Linked DNA regions of Homo sapiens: region 2 is linked to region 1. Evidence: promoter capture Hi-C in human tissues and cell types (Jung and others, 2019). All regions are on one chromosome and are shown on one strand. Each heading gives the region's core, a stretch centred on a gene start or on the middle of the fragment in contact. The rest is flanking DNA. Distances are from core to core; before and after follow the strand shown.

Region 1 (2,874 bases), core at 107-2,606:
TGGGAGGTGTCTCCCAGTTAGTCTACACAGGGTTCAGGGACCCATTTGAGAAGGCAGTCTGTCTGTTCTAAGAGCTCAAACACCATGCTGGGAGAACCACTGCTCTCTTCAGTGCTGTCAGACAGGGATGTTTAAGTCTGCAGAGGTTTCTGCTGCCTTTTGTTCAGTTATGCACTGCTCCCAGAGGTGGAGTCTATAGAGGCAGAAAGCCTTGCCTTGCTGCAGTGGGCTTCGCCCAGTTTGAGCTGCCCAGCTGCTTTGCTTTCCTACTCAAGCCTCAGCAATGGTGAGCAACCCTCCTCCTGCCAGGCTGCTGCCTTGCAGGTTGATCTCAGACTACTGCACTAGCAGTGAGCAAAGCTCTGTGGGAATGGGACCCACCAAACCAGGCACAGGATATAATCTCCTGGTGTGCCATTTGCTAAGACCATTGGAAAAGTGCAGTATTTGAGCAGGAGTGTCTTGTTTTTCCAGGTACAGTCTGTCACGGCTTCCCTTGTCTAGGAAAGGGAAATCCCCTGACCTCTTACACTTCCTGGGTAAGGCAATGCCCTGCCTTGCTTCGGCTCACCCTCTGTGGGCTGCACGCACTGTCCAACCAGTCCCAGTGAGATGAACCAGGTACCTCAGCTGGAAATGCAGAAATCACCCATTTTCTGCATCAGTCACACTGGGAGCTGCAGACCGGAGCTGTTCCTATTTGCCCATCCTCTCCCTGCTTTCTTTACCTCTGAGGTTGGATTCTCCCTGTGGGATCCTGCAATCCTTCTGCCCCAAAAAACTATTATAGCAGGAGGGAACCTGTTCCTGCTCACTCTTTGCCTTCTCCTTCTCATCCTAGACAGCCTGACCGTGCCCTAGTTTTCAGAGGAGTGATTGATTCTGGGGTGCGGAGCAGGATGAGGAAACTCAGGCTCAGAGAGGGATTTCCACCTAATGTGCCTGGAAACCATGGGTAGCTACCCAATAAGGCCTTTCTATGTTCAGAAGGTCATGGACCAGGAGTGTTGGTATCGGAGCTTTGTAGAGACAGTTTTGACCCCTGTACTTAGAGCAGAGGGGTGTGTTTGCCATGGAGAGTGTGTGTGGGCAGCTGTGTGTAAGCCTGTGTGAGTTCTGTGTATGTTCCTGTGTGAATATATGTGTGTGCTCCTTCATGGACACAGCATGCATGTAGTGGGCATAGCAAGGCAGAGAGAAATCAGGAGACTAGGGGCACATTGCCCAGTAGGAAGATAGTATCTTCCTACTGGGCAGGACTTGAGGTGTGCAAAGGTGTGCATGAGTACTGCAAAAGCAGTTCAAAGAGCAGAGAGGTGGGGCCAGAATAAATATGTTGCAGAAAGGCAGTCATCAGGGAGGAAAGTGAGGATTCCCTGCCAAAATGCCTGAGGGCTTCCCTGCCTACCACAGCCCTCTGTGTTCTTAAATCCTCCTGTCTGAACAGAGGCCAGACTCTGGTTTCCCCCACAGCCTGTCTGTGTCTGTCCTCTGCAAAGCCATGTGGCTCTACCTGGCGGTTTTCGTGGGCCTGTACTACCTTCTGCACTGGTACCGGGAGAGGCAGGTGCTGAGCCACCTGAGAGATAAGTATGTGTTCATCACGGGCTGTGACTCTGGCTTCGGGAAACTGCTGGCCAGACAGCTGGATGCACGAGGCTTGCGGGTGCTGGCTGCATGTCTGACGGAGAAAGGAGCCGAGCAGCTGAGGGGCCAGACTTCAGACAGGCTGGAGACGGTGACCCTGGATGTTACCAAGACAGAGAGCGTTGCTGCAGCCGCCCAGTGGGTGAAGGAGTGCGTGAGAGACAAAGGTAACCACCCAGGTTTGTCAAGTCTGTCTGTGTCTTCCCTCTGTGTGAAGGGACCACCTCCTGTCTGCTCCCTGGGAAGATTCCTACAGTGTCTTTCCAGGTTGAAGTAACAGTAGCTTTCTAATATTTCTCACTTAACAGGCTGCCTGAACCCCATCTCTTTTCAATCCTTAACCTCTCCCGACATTGGAGGTGTCTAGTCTTGGGGAGAGTTTGCCCTGATGAGATTTTCTCTCCAGAATTCCTCTCTATCCTCTCCCTCCTGTCTAAGCAGAAGTCATGTGTTGTTTGATGCTAAGAGCCTGGGTTAGAGATCTGGAGACTTGCTGGAGCATCGTTGAGAAGGGAGCACAGGGCTGCAAGTGTGCACGGAGGCTGTGCCTGTGCTGGAGCCAGGCTTATGTTCCCAGCACTTTACCTTGTTTTTGCTAGGGCCCATCAGCGTCCACTGAGAGCTACGATCATCTCCATCTTCAGAGGAGAGTATCAGCTTAAGGACTGCTTAAGGAAGGCAGAACTAGTAAGGGGTTACTTTTTCTTTCTTTCTTCTTTTCACTACACTAATTCATCTGTCTTATTATAGAGGAAGAAAGAAACATGGATTTATTTTATGTAACAATAAATCAGAATATGATCTTTGTGGAAAACACTGAAAAGAATAAAGATGAAAACAAGTTTCCCTGAAATTGTCATCCACACATAAGTCCTTTTTACAATTATACAAAATTAGGATTTTATATTTTGTTCTTAGTTTCAGTCACCTTAAATTCTCTGGAGAAGATGAACACTTTTCCACCATAATGACTGTTTTTATAAAATTATATTTAATTATTTAGAATACTGTATCCTTCCAATAGCCTTACCTATGTAATCCATACTGAGTGGTTGGATATGAAATTCCTTCCTGCTTTTTATTCATCATAAATGTCATCTTGGTGGACTTTTATTTGCCAACGTCTCTGTAAGTGTGAGTATTGATTGGATTCTTAAAAATGAGATGTCTGGGTGGAGGAATCTGCATTTGCATCAGGGCAGGGCCTGTTATTGAGCAGGGGACAGG
Region 2 (2,870 bases), core at 196-2,695, 38 kb after region 1:
ATGGACTTTAATCATTAGTCAGTCTGTCAAGAAGAATTTATCAGGCTCCTACTATGTGCTAAATGTGGTTCCAGATTCTAGAGTTATAGTGGGGTATAAGACAGAGTCCTTGCCCTCAAAGAGTTTACATTCTAACGGAGGGAGGGGTTGGCCAATAGACATATAAAAAGTGAATGAAATAATTTTATATACTGATAAGTGCCATGGAGAAGAGAAAATATAACAATGTAATAGATGACCAGGGAGGCTGCTTACCTTTTTTTCTAATCAACATTAATGAGGTAAAGTTTGCATAAAAAGAAATGCATCCATCTAAGTGTACCATCTGATGAGTCTTGTCACATGTTTACACCTGTACAACCACCACCAGTCAAAATATAAAACATTTTTCTCATCCTAGAAAGTTCCCTTGTACCTGTCTGCAGTTAATCATCCCTCCTCTCCACCCTGGTTCCAGACAACCACTGATGTGTTTCTGTCACTATAGATTCATTTTGAGACTGCTTACTTTTTAAAAAGACCACTTTTGCTGCCATTGGGGAATGAATTGGAAGAACTGGATTGAAGAGGTGCAAGTCTAGACCTGATAAGAGAAGTGTGACAATAAAATAATAGAAATAAAAATAACTGGCATTTATTGGACATTTATTCAGTCCAAGCACTGCGCTTAGAATTTCCCACATATTATCCATTCAATTTTATTTAATCTCTGCAACAAGTCCTGTGAGGTTACTCCTATGTTATAGAGGAGGAAACTGAGGCTCACAGAGGTAAAGTAATTTGCACAAGATTACACTGCTAATAAATGGCAGAGTCAGAGTGCGGTTCGCCACATGCTACAATAGCAAGCACTTCCAGAGTGCTCACCACATGCCAGACACTGTTCTAAGCACTTTAATTTTCTTTTTTTTAATTTTTTATTTTACTTTAAGTTCTGTGATACATGTGCAGAACCTGCAGGTTTGTTACATAGGTATACATGTGCCATGGTGGTTTGCTGTACCTATTAACCCATCATCCAGGTTTTAAGCCCTGCATACATTAGGTATTTGTCCTAATGCTCTCCCTCCCCTAGCCCCTTACCCTCAGACAGGCCCCAATGTGTGATGTTCCCCTCCCTGTGTCCATGTGTTCTCATTGTTCAACTCCCACTTATGAGTGAGAACATGCAGTGTTTGGTTTTCTCTTCCTGTGTTAGTTTGCTGATAATGATGGCTTCCAGCTTCATCCATGTCCCTGCAAAGGACATGATCTCATTTTTTTAAAATTTTATTATTATTATACTTTAAGTTTTAGGGTACACGTGCACAACGTGCAGGCTTGTTACATATGTATACATGTGCCATGTTGGTGTGCTGCACCCACCAACTCGCCATCTAGCATTAGGTATATCTCCCAATGCTATCCCTCTCCCCTCCCCCCACCCCACAACAGTCCCCGAAGTGTGATGTTCCCCTTCCTGTGTCCATGTGTTCTCATTGTTCAATTCCCACCTATGAGTGAGAACATGTGGTGTTTGGTTTTTTGTCCTTGCGGTAGTTTGCTGAGAATGATGGTTTCCAGTTTCATCCATGTCCCTACAAAGGACATGAACTCTTCATTTTTTATGGCTGCATAGTATTCCATGGTGTATATGTGCCACATTTTCTTAATCCAGTCTATCGTTGTTGGACATTTGGGTTGGTTCCAAGTCTTTGCTATTGTGAATAGTGCCGCAATAAATATAAGTGTGCATGTGTCTTTACAGCAGCATGATTTATAATCCTTTGGGTATATACCCAGTAATGGGATGGCTGGCTCAAATGGTATTTCTAGTTCTAGATCCCTGAGGAATCGCCACACTGACTTCCACAATGGTTGAACTAGTTTACAGTCCCACCAACAGTGTAAAAGTGTTCCTATTTCTCCACATCCTCTCCAGCACCTGTTGTTTCCTGACTTGTTAATGATCGCCATTCTAACTGGTGTGAGATGGTATCTCACTGTGGTTTTGATTTGCATTTCTCTGATGGCCAGTGATGATGAGCATTTTTTAATGTGTCTTTTGGATGCATAAATGTCTTCTTTTGAGAAGTGTCTGTTCATATCCTTCACCCACTTTTTGATGGGGTTGTTTGTTTTTTTCTTGTAAATTTGTTTGAGTTCATTGTAGATTCTGGATATTAGCCCTTTGTCAGATGAGTAGGTTGCGAAAATTTTCTCCCATTTTGTAGATTGCCCGTTCACTCTGATGGTAGTTTCTTTTGCTGTGCAGAAGCTCTTTAGTTTAATTCGATCCCATTTGTCAATTTTGGCTTTTGTTGCCATTGCTTTTGGTGTTTTAGACATGAAGTCCTTGCCCATGCCTCTGTCCTGAATGGTAATGCCTAGGTTTTCTTCTAGGGTTTTTATGGTTTTATGTCTAACATGTAAGTCTTTAATCCATCTTGAATTAATTTTTGTATAACGTGTAAGGACATGATCTCATTTTTTATGGCTGCATAGTATTCCATTGCGCATACGTGCCACATTTTCTTTATCCAGTCTATCATTGATGGGCATTTGGGTTGGTTCCAAGTCTTTGCTATTGTTAAGTAGTGGTGCAGTAAACATATGTGTGCATGTGTCTTTATAGTAGAATGATTTATCATCCTTTGGGTATATACCCAGGAATGGGATTGCTGGGTCAAATGCTATTTCTGGTTCTGGATCCTTGAGGAATCGCCACACTGTCTTACACTGTCTTCCACAATGGTTGAACTAATTTACACTCTTACCAACAATGTAAAATTGTTCCGATTTCTCCACAGCCTTACCAGCATCTGTTGTTTCAGCACCTTAATTTTCATAACAATCCTGAAAGGTGTTATTACTCCAGTTTTAATGAGAGG

What was found. The method cuts DNA at HindIII sites, captures the fragments that hold promoters and counts their contacts. A contact is called where the count stands out against the background at its distance.
Region 2: a contact is called between a fragment that was not itself captured here and the fragment with the promoter of RDH16 in region 1, in 1 of the 25 tissues and cell types used here (adrenal gland).

The regions. Positions count from the first base shown.
Region 1 is chr12:56,956,090-56,958,963 of GRCh38, reverse strand. RDH16 (retinol dehydrogenase 16) reads left to right here and starts at 1,356. Exons shown (of 4, transcript NM_003708.5): 1 at 1,356-1,814. The coding sequence starts at 1,502. The HindIII fragment of the contact is 7,259 bases long and covers 1-2,874 here.
Region 2 is chr12:56,917,945-56,920,814 of GRCh38, reverse strand. No RefSeq gene overlaps it. Among named protein-coding and RNA genes, the nearest start is that of SDR9C7, 15 kb to the left of the region's middle. The HindIII fragment of the contact is 7,973 bases long and covers 1-2,870 here.